Linked DNA regions of Homo sapiens: all the other regions are linked to region 1. The links are contacts of gene promoters, found by promoter capture Hi-C in blood cells and fetal thymus (Javierre and others, 2016). All regions are on one chromosome and are shown on one strand. The core of a region is centred on a gene start or on the middle of the fragment in contact, and the rest is flanking DNA. Distances in the headings are between cores, read along the strand shown. Region 1 holds the start of H3-3A-DT (H3-3A divergent transcript). Region 2 overlaps ENAH (ENAH actin regulator). Region 3 overlaps PARP1 (poly(ADP-ribose) polymerase 1).

Region 1 (3,311 bases), core at 283-2,782:
AAATCCAGCATACAAAGAAAACATTACCCATGTCATTTAACATTTCTTGAAGATATGATGCATTTAACTAATGCAGAACAGCCTTCCTGGATAAATCCAACAATAAATATTTCGGTTTCCTGAAAACAAAACAAAAAACAAGCAAAATAACTCATCTTGGCTTGAATTATAGGAAATTCTTTGCTGGCAGCTCGGTCCAAGCTGATTGCATATGTGCTTTTAGGATAGGATTAGAGATTGCATGTGTTCTGCACAGCAACCATGGACACTTAACATTCATGAAATAATAATGAAACGGGAGGCCTGGATTTTTGTCTGTTTGTTTCTCCTAGGTCTCTTCCTCACTTAAGTGACCTTGGACAAATCCATTTCTTCCCTCGTATCTGATTTCCATGTATCTGTTTCGGGATAATGTTTATCACTAAGCCGCTTTGTGAGATCTTCAGATTACAAATAATTACTGCCCTTCATTTATGAAATTTTCCTCCTTCACTACCCTACGGGATATTTGCATGACCCTTCCATTGAAAACCTTTACACACAGTTGTGAAGCGTCAATACCATCTAGGGACGGTTCAGAGGTTCCAAAGCCAATCAACTGACAAGTCGTGAGGATAACTTGGGCCATGAAAAGTCCGTTTCCTATGCTACTGAGAATTGGAAAACAGGTATATGTACTAATTCCCAAACCACGTTTGCCTTCTTTCTGCCGTTTTCAGCCTCTTCTAAACTATGCAGAAGCTGCGGACATTTGACTATCTATATTCGGCAATTCCTTTCCAAAGCAATCCTACCGAAAACAGATCACACGGCCCCCACGGGCGGGCAGGACAAGCCACCAGGCCCTGGTGCAGGAGCTGCGCGCTCCACACATTGTTTAGAGGCCGACGCGACACAGCCATCTTGCGTCGGGGGCCCGGGCCCGGGAGGAGAGCGAGCCCCGTCCCCTGATCCCGGAGGCCAACACCGGCGAGGGGCTGCCCTGCACGCAGGCGGCCGGCCCAGGAGTCTTAGCGGATCAAGTTGTCTACGGCGGACTCGGGCCGGTCCCGCAGGACCCGGCCGCACTTGGCCGAGCGCGCAGGCGGGAAGGAGGCCGTCGGTCCGCCCCTCCCGCTGCCGCAGCGGCCAGGTCCGACAGCGGGCGCGGGACGCTGGATTCCTATTTGCCAGCTTCCTGCTGGGGAGCGTTTTCCAATGGGGCGCGGCGACCCGGCCGACCGCGTCCTCCTCCCCCACTGCCGCCCGGGTCTCCTCGGGGGCGCGCGCCGGGGCCCGCGCGGGGGCAGCCCCTCCCTCCCCTCCCCGCCGCGGCCCGAGACGCCCGCAGGCCGGGCGTTCACCCGCCGCGCCTCCGCCCGCCTTCCCCTCCCCCCACTTCCCTCCGGGCGCCCCAAACCCGGGCTTCGGGGGTTCGACGCCGTGCGCACACGGAGCGGGATGGGAGTGCAGGGCCGGGGGCGGGGGCTGGCCGGGTGCGGGCGGCAGTCTCGGCGGGAGCCGGCGGCCCCTCAGCGTGTCTTTTGTGTTTGTACACACACGGCGCGAGGCGGCCTGGAGGAGGGAGCGGGCGGCGCGCGGGGGAGGGGCGAGCGCGCGCCAGCGAACGGGCGCGCGGGGGGAAGGGCGGGGGCGGGGCGCGAGAGGAGCTATGGGGGCGGGGCCGAGCCTTCCCTCCATTGTGTGTGATTGGCTGGCGCGCGGCGCGGGGGCGGGGCGGCGTGTGTTGGGGGATAGCCTCGGTGTCAGCCATCTTTCAATTGTGTTCGCAGCCGCCGCCGCGCCGCCGTCGCTCTCCAACGCCAGCGCCGCCTCTCGCTCGCCGAGCTCCAGCCGAAGGAGAAGGGGGGTAAGTTTCCCCGTCTGCCCGCTTCCCCGGAACCGAGCCCCGCTTGCCGTCAGCCCCGAGCCGGGCCCTGGCGGTGCCGGGAGGGGACCCATAGCCCCTCCGGCTTAGCCCACAAACTTTTTGGCCCAGAAATGGAGGTGAGGAGCGAGTTTCCCTGTTCCCTCTGGCGGCGGCGGCTCCCCCGTCTCTCGCCGCCTCAGCCCAACAGCAGCAACCGCCGCGGCGCCGAGCCTGCTCTCCCTCCTCCTCCCCGCGCCCCTGGCTCCTCTTTCTTCGGTGAAATCCCGCCCGCCGCCCCTTCCCCGGACCCCAAACCTTCACCATGACCCGCGCGGGCCTCTTAACTACCGCCCCCGGGCCCCAGCCCCCAGTTTTCGAGCGGGAAAGGGGTGGAAATCGCCGCCGCTTCGCACCCTGGGGTAACTCGCTTTTTGCTGCCTCCCCACAGTTGTTGCTAAGCTTCACCATCTTGTCTCTCTTCTCTGGTCACCGACCATATTTTTTCCCCCGTTTCTCTCTTCCCCATTTCAAAAAAGCAAGAATTTTTAAAAGAGGGACGTTTTTTTCCCTTTTTTGGAGAGGCGGAAACTTGATGCATTTGAAATGCAAAAAAAACTTTTGCATTTTGGAGGGCGGCACGTGGCAGGGGATAGGGGTATTTTCGAGCGATTTGGTGTTTTGTCTCTTTGGAACGGAATCGGATACGTTTTGCGATTGTTTCCATTTTGTTCTGGTCGGGGAGCCGAGTTGGTTCCTGCTCGAGGCGCTGGGAGCGAGGCGGGCAGGTTGGGGGACCCTGTGCCGAGGGACCCGAAGGAGGCAAAACCAAAAGTTTATGTGGTGCTTGGGGTGGACCGGTCGGCGGATGTCGTGCGTTAATTAAAGCCTGGGTGCGGGGCACTTTTTATTTCACTGCGAAGCCTGTGAGGACTGGACGCGAGGACGGGGCTTTGTAGAATGCTCGCTGGTGGTAGCTGTTGTTCCTCTCTTGTTTTTTCGAGACGCCTTTTTGTCAACATAACTGTAAAGATGCAAAACCAAGAATATTTTCAGATATTTACAGCAATCCATCAACAGTCAGACGAAGGGGGGGCAGCCAAAGTGGGGGGGAGTAAGACCTTTTTTTTGCTGTAATTTGACTCGACCTTCCAGTGGTTTGTGCCTTTTTTCTTTTGACTTGTTTGTGGATGGAATGTTTACAGACATTTCTAATTACTGCTTTAATTAAATAAATTGGATCAAAGGCCGTTCGAGGTATTTTTGTTTTGCCGTTTGTCGCTCAGAATTGGCATTTTGAGAGGTGATTGATACTGCTAACAATTTTCTAGTACTCTAGTTTGTTTCAAGAAGAGATTTTGGGTAGACGTAATCTTCACCCTTTCAAATTATATAACAATACGAACATTATTTTTTATACTGATCATAATTTCCAGATTTGGGGAGGGGGTGATCGTGGCAGGAA
Region 2 (3,311 bases), core at 284-2,783, 510 kb before region 1:
GATGATTGGTTATGTATACGCCAGATTAAGACCAAGCACACAGAAGGTGACCAATAAATAGATCATTATTCCTGCCTCAGAATGGCTTTAATTTCTATGTGAGGACAAAGGTAGAAAGCTAGAACACTGCCGTGGCAGGTATAGCCAGCACTAAATGAAAGCTGGTCACCTCCTCTTCATTCTGCTCCTCTCCTCTCTCTACTTTGTCAGTTCAGGCCTCATCTTTCTCACCGGTATTATTACAACAGTGTCCTGAATTGATCTTCATGCTTGTAAACTTGCATGCTCACCACACTTGTCCTAAAGCACAAACTTGATCATATCAATCCTTTATTTAGCATCCTTCAATGACTCTTCACCACCTCCATGATAACATGCACACTCGTCAGCACTAGGCCCTTCCCAACCTTATCTCTTGGGATGCCCTGCTCCTGACCCCCACCACATAAATTCTCATGTCCAAGCCACATCATGGCATATTTGTTATTTCCCAATTGCTCCATGCTCTCATGCTTCCAAACCTATCTAGAATGTTCTATCACTGATGAGCCCTCCCCATTCTTCAAACATAGCTGAAACATCACCTTCTCTTCAAAGCTTTCCCTGACCCTAGAATTTTCTTTGGTATTCCGAAGGCCTTTCTTCACACTACATTCGCAAGCTGTATCCTAATTTTGCTGGCCTTGTTTCTGGCAGCTGTAGCCCGACTGTGACATCAGGCAAGGGACAGGCTTTATTTATCATTTTTGTATTATTCCCAGTGCCTAACACAGTTTATAAAAAATACGCTTTACTGAAAATATTTTTGTGATATAAGCTTAATATTGTTTGCATTAATATCAACAATCTGGAAGACTAAAAAACAAAACTGTCACTATAAAGTATTTCTAGAAACTACTGAGATTTTTTTAATCCTATTAATTCCAAACATAAAGAGATTTTTAAATGCTGTGATAAAACTCATACAAATGTACATACTGGAAGGTATGTCAGGCCAAATTATCATTAAAAAATGAAATCTCAATATTATAAAACCTCTAGAAAATTTCAACCATAAGGAAGGTATGACTTTTGACCATGTTCTCATGTTCAATAGATTAAAAAATAAAACCCAGCAAAAGTAGTCTTTTAGATAATGGTAAAATACTTATTTTGGGGTGTTCTTTTTGAAAAGGCATGCTTCATCTTGGCTGAGAACAAAAGCAGTGGGATAATCTTACTGGTTATGCATATAATTTTCTTTTTTTTGGATTTAAAAATTATTTCCTATTTTCAAATGATTTAAACCTTTTAAGAAAATAAAAGTTGGGCAAATTTGCCTCCACCAATTATCACAAAAATTAACTTTGTAGTTTATATAATCCATAACTATTACCTATAAAAATCTATAAATGTACTGGATAAATAATAGAGAAATCAAAAATATCACTTTAGGTAATACACCCATTTAAAATTGAATCCATTTCCATGGAGAAAGGAAAAAATACACTGTAGCATTTGGTATAAAAGGAAGAGCACTAATTCAGCTCTTTTTCAAAAATGTTAGAACATGTGATTTGTGTTTTTTTAACTTCCAAATATAACTCACTGTATTTAGCACCTTCTGTACTTTCCAGTATATTAGATAATTGCATACCAAGTTAAAAACAAAATAAAGGAAAACATTTCTGCCACCCACCATTTTCATTAAAAAAAGGAAATATCACACAAACACACAGAGCACCTTGTAAAGGTTGGTATGACTAGCCCCCCAGAAAGCTGTTTTTTATAAATTTAAAAAATTTGAGGACGTAGGGGACACGGAAGAAGAGGAAAGGAAAATTATGTGATTATTGGTTTTAGCACAAAACGTGAGCTAGTAATTTTCAAATTCAGTTCTAGAGAACCATGGAGGCATCTCAGTGGTTGCGGATCCGGAACCCTATATCAATCAGAGAAGCTCCATATTTTCTGTCCATTTATACACTGAACTACCAAAGATCTCATTTGCACAAAAATGTCCATAACTTTTTAAAGTCTGAAAATCACTGAGAAGGATTAGCCGATGACAACAGTGGATAATATTGATATTAGCACCTAATAAATAAAAATACAAACAGAAATGTTTAATATGGAAAAATGTTTTAACAAGTGGTAAAACATTAAGAAACAGGCAAGACTAATATTTGTAGTTGCTTTATCAATAAGTTTGTTCTGCTTCTCATCAGTTTTATCAGGCTACAGTTTGTAAAGGGAAGGGAGATGTAAGTTAAGCTTTTTCAACTTGGTTTTGGAAGAAAGACAGTAGATGATTTCAGCAGCCAATTGGCTGTGAATCCAAAGCAAAGATTTTTGGCAGGGTATGATCAAACTGAGAGGTGACATTATTGGGTATGTTTGTTTAGATAAAGGGGAGGTGGCCCATATAATGTTGGGGTAGGGTACATACCTTTTCTACACTGGAGAATCTGCGTAAGAAATTATATCTATTCCCAAGAACACTCCTGATTCTTTTTTTTTTTTTTTTTTTTGAGACAGAGTCTTGCTCAGTCGCCCAGGCTGGAGAGCAGTGGCACGATCTCAGCTCACTGCAAGCTCCGCCTCCCGGGTTCACACCATTCTCCTGCCTCAGCCTCCCGAGTAGCTGGGACTACAGGCGCCCGCCACCACGCCCGGCTAATTTTTTTGTATTTTTTAGTAGAGACAGGGTTTCACCATGTTAGCCAGGATGGTCTCAATCTCCTGACCTCGTGATCCACCCGCCTCAGCCTCCCAAAGTGCTGGGATTACAGGCGTGAGCCACCGTGCCCGGCCCTGATTCTTAACATCTTACTCTCTCCCATGCTTCTACTTCCACACTAATTAAGGCCATCAAAAATAAGAAATAGTATTTAACTACAGTAATTTATGAAAACAGTCATTTTCTAAGTAAATCAGACTATTTAGAACTTAGCCATTCTATATGGTTTTTTTTCCATGATGAAAAACTACAGAACTAAAAGCTTCCTTGCCAGTGACTGATCCACAATACCAGGAGGCAGCTGTGATGGACTCATTTCTTCCACCATTATCTCTCTTTCCTCAGCCCCTAGTATGAGTGGTTGAGATTGTGACTGAGAATAAAGTATCAAAATCATCTAACAAGAAGCCTTTTTCCCACACTAAAATGCTTGTGTAGCTTGTAAAATGATGGCCGATTTTCCTATTTGCCAAACTTTCTATAATGTGGAACATTGTTTCTTAATGCTTATTACCTTACAATAGAGAATGTAATTGAGTCTCTCCACATTAAGATTCATTAATTTGAAAAGATCAAGATTTAAAAAAAGGCT
Region 3 (3,311 bases), core at 696-3,195, 340 kb after region 1:
TCATTCACAGATGGAGACAGTGGGGCTGGAAATCCTTGCCTGGGGGGTTGGGAGTCACAGAGGCAGCAAATGAATGATTTGACACTATGATTCCTCCCACCACACTCCACTGCCCGGCAGGAAGAGCTACTTAAAAATACACCAACTGTGATCTGACTAAAGTAAGGGAAGTCCCAAACATCTGCTTTTATAGAACATAAAGCTAAATGTCACACAGATGCAATAAGACTATTAAAACAGCATTAAAAGTAAATGTGCTGAATTTTTAGGATGGAGTTGCGGGGACAGGGAAAATACTCTGGAAAAGCAATGATAAGGTACCCCACTATCTCTCTCCACTGTGAGTGGCCTCTTTCTGGATGTGATGTATTAAAATGCACAGCTAAGACTATGGCAGCACAAGGACTCCTCAACATCAGCTTTCCCCTGGGTCTGGAATGCTCTCCAGCCCTGTTCAGAGCACTCCCTCAGATCTCCCAATGCTCCTTCCACAGCTCCCCTCACTAAGAACTATGCATTTGGTGATTATTTCATAAGGGCCTATCTTGCTATTCTCTAGCAACATGTCACAGAGGGCACGCAGTGTTTGCTTAGGGCTCCAAGTCAGATGGAACAAAAAAGGAAGGATGGGGAAATTCCTGCTGTAGAAGAGACAACAAATGGCATTTCTGAGAGCATACTCATGTTCCAACTCTCAAACGTTCCACCAGATCTCAATTAGGCTGCTGATACAGATCCCTAAGCATCTGGCTATCATGGAATATTTGCAATGGCCTCGACCTGGCTCTGCCTGCTTGTCTACCCCTTGTCTACCCTTCCTGTGCAATGTTCCAGTTACCCTTGTATAAAGAGCACAGGTAATGGCTATGGCACTTCTTCCTGGCTCTGCCAGGGGCCCCAGACCTGCTGCCCTTTGGTCTGGGTGCTGTCTCCCCCAACCACCGGCACAGTGCTGGACACCCTGGAGGTGCTGCCCAATGGTGCAATCACAGCACAAGCTTAGAGGACAAGAGCCTCAGCAGAAGCACCCCTGACCAAAGCAATGCTTTGCCCTAAACTCAGGACTGAGAATGATGTGGCAGAAAGGCACCAAACCAAGGTCACAAGACTATCGACTCCATTTGTTAGCTGCACAGCTGAGGCAAGGCACAGAATCTTTGGCTGTGCACCCAAGCAAAAACTGAGCACCTAACATACCAGGGTCCTCACCCAACCAGCAGCTGGTGAACTGGGTTCCCTTCTGTGCAGAACAGGCCATGCTACCTGTCCACCTAGGCCACAGAGAGAATGAACTGACCTCACTGCATGCCTCCGGGTGCTCAAACCCTCCCAGGACAGAGCAACTCAAAGGTCTACCGCCATCCTCCTCCCACCAAAATGCTGGAGGGCCCAGCTCATCCCTCCCAAGATGCCCCAGGCATGAGGGCTAAAGTGTCAGGTATCAGATACTCAGAGAACAATACTCCCATGTAAATGTAAAAGAAGGTATTTAAATTCAAGCAAGTGAAAAGGCTTCTTTCTTTTTGGCCTTCACCAGCTCAGTCTACCAGACCAACTTTAAATTCTGAATTAAAACTCTGAATCCACCCTTAATCACCATTACATAAAAATCACAGTTACTTTTAATAATAAAGAGTTTCTTTCACTATCAAGTATACCAAAGGAAAGCCCAGAATGTTGTTATTACTATTTTTTTTTTCAGACAGGGTCTGGGTCTGGGTCTGGGTCTGTCGCCCAGGCTGGAGTGCAGTGGCACTATCTCAGCTCACTGCAACCTCCACCTCCCAGGCTCAAGCAATCTTCCAGCTTCAGCCTCCGGAGTAGCTGGGACTTAACAGGCACGCACCACCACGACCCGCTAATCATTGCATTTTTTTGTAGAGACAGGTTTCACCATGTTGGCCAGGCTGGTCTCAAACTGCTGAGCTTAAGTAATCTGCCCACCCCAGCCTCCCAAAGTGCTGAGATTACAAGCATGCGCCACCAAGCCCGGCCCCAGAATGCTAAACTTGATCAGGTTCAGTTTCCTCCATCCGGCCTCCCCCACAGCTAAGCCTCCTCTAACTTCCTCCACAGCGGTGTTGTTCTAGCCTCAACACAGTCTGGACTTGGGTTTTGTTTGTCTTTCCACCAGAACACGGTACTCTGCCCACCTGTTAAGGCGCCTGGATGTCCCTTTCTCAGAATAACATTTAAAAATGCGTAATAAAAAGGCTCGCAAATGGCCAGTCACGGTGGCTCATGCCTGTAACCCTAGCACTTTGTGGGGCCGAGGTGCATGGATCGCTTGAGCTCAGGAGTTTGAGACCAGCCTGGGCAACATAGTGAGACCCCATCTCAAAAAACAAAACAAACAAAAAGGCTCGAAAAGGAAACACTGAGATAATTATCAAAACATTTGAAAGGTAATTTGGGTACAGTAACCCGTGAGCTTTTAAGCATTAAATAACAAGATCTAGTACAGCCTCTAATAACTGTGATTTTTGTAGCAATGAGAGTAAATTATATTTTGAAAAACTTCCAACTGTAAAGTGATATGAAAATATCTGTAATTATCACTGGTGAAAAAAAAATAGGGACTGCTAATATGCCTTTGCTTTGCTGCTTACATTTATGATTAGAGGAAATAATTTTATCTAGAGGTTAGTGGAGATGGAGATATCAATTTTTTCTTATCTAAACTCATGGACCTCTTGCCTTCTACCTACCATCCCACAGACCCTGGGTTAAGAGCTCCTGCACCAGGAGTGAGAACTTCATAACAGGCTGCCTTGTATATTCAAAGTAAGTTCTAGGTTCCTTAGTGGGCAACAAGGCTCTTCAAATTGTAGGCCCTGTCTACTTCCCTATTCTCATCTTTCTGCTCCACTTCTGTGAATTAACGACTCCTAATCAAGCTTCCACCCTTAGCTGGGTCATCTCGGACTCCTAGGCACACAATGCCTAGAGCACAGCTCCATCAGGTGGCATCCATCCTCTCTTACGGTAACGTTTGTTTACCAGTCATTTCCCGTTTAACCAAACTGGAAATTCCCAAAGGTGGATTCTGTGTCCTTAAAACCTAACAGAGTGCTTAGAACTTAAAAAATGCCTACCAAATAAGCACTGTGTGCCACGTACTGACTTAGGTATGCCCCGAGGACACCAAGATGACAGGCATATTGTGAAATAAGATAACGGAAGTACACCTGGCACTTGGGTATCCACTCGGTAAATGTCGCCCTCCCTTGTACTAAGTACTGAAAATCCACTGAGGGATATCTGGTCATTCCTAAAACACATTACAGCTCATGGAAGGGAGGAAAATCAAG

What was found. Contacts are between HindIII fragments. The CHiCAGO score rates a contact against its expected background, and 5 or more counts as called.
Region 2: a fragment that was not itself captured here is called in contact with the fragment with the promoter of H3-3A-DT in region 1 in 2 of 17 cell types (non-activated CD4 T cells and naive B cells); the score reaches 7.7 in non-activated CD4 T cells.
Region 3: a fragment that was not itself captured here is called in contact with the fragment with the promoter of H3-3A-DT in region 1 in 2 of 17 cell types (total B cells and fetal thymus); the score reaches 6.3 in total B cells.

What each region holds. Positions count from the first base shown.
Region 1 is chr1:226,060,963-226,064,273 of GRCh38, forward strand. It overlaps H3-3A-DT (H3-3A divergent transcript), which reads right to left and starts at 1,533. Exons shown (of 2, transcript NR_185887.1): 1 at 28-1,533. H3-3A (H3.3 histone A) reads left to right here and starts at 1,754. Exons shown (of 4, transcript NM_002107.7): 1 at 1,754-1,849. RefSeq lists silencers at 873-1,722, 1,309-1,474, 2,093-2,162. The HindIII fragment of the contact is 4,693 bases long and covers 1-2,306 here.
Region 2 is chr1:225,549,645-225,552,955 of GRCh38, forward strand. The region is part of intron 3 of ENAH (ENAH actin regulator); the gene reads right to left. Among named protein-coding and RNA genes, the nearest start is that of LINC02765, 84 kb to the left of the region's middle. The HindIII fragment of the contact is 1,436 bases long and covers 816-2,251 here.
Region 3 is chr1:226,403,611-226,406,921 of GRCh38, forward strand. The region is part of intron 1 of PARP1 (poly(ADP-ribose) polymerase 1); the gene reads right to left. Among named protein-coding and RNA genes, the nearest start is that of PARP1, 2.8 kb to the right of the region's middle. RefSeq lists enhancers at 1-219, 1-4, 3,048-3,107. The HindIII fragment of the contact is 1,899 bases long and covers 997-2,895 here.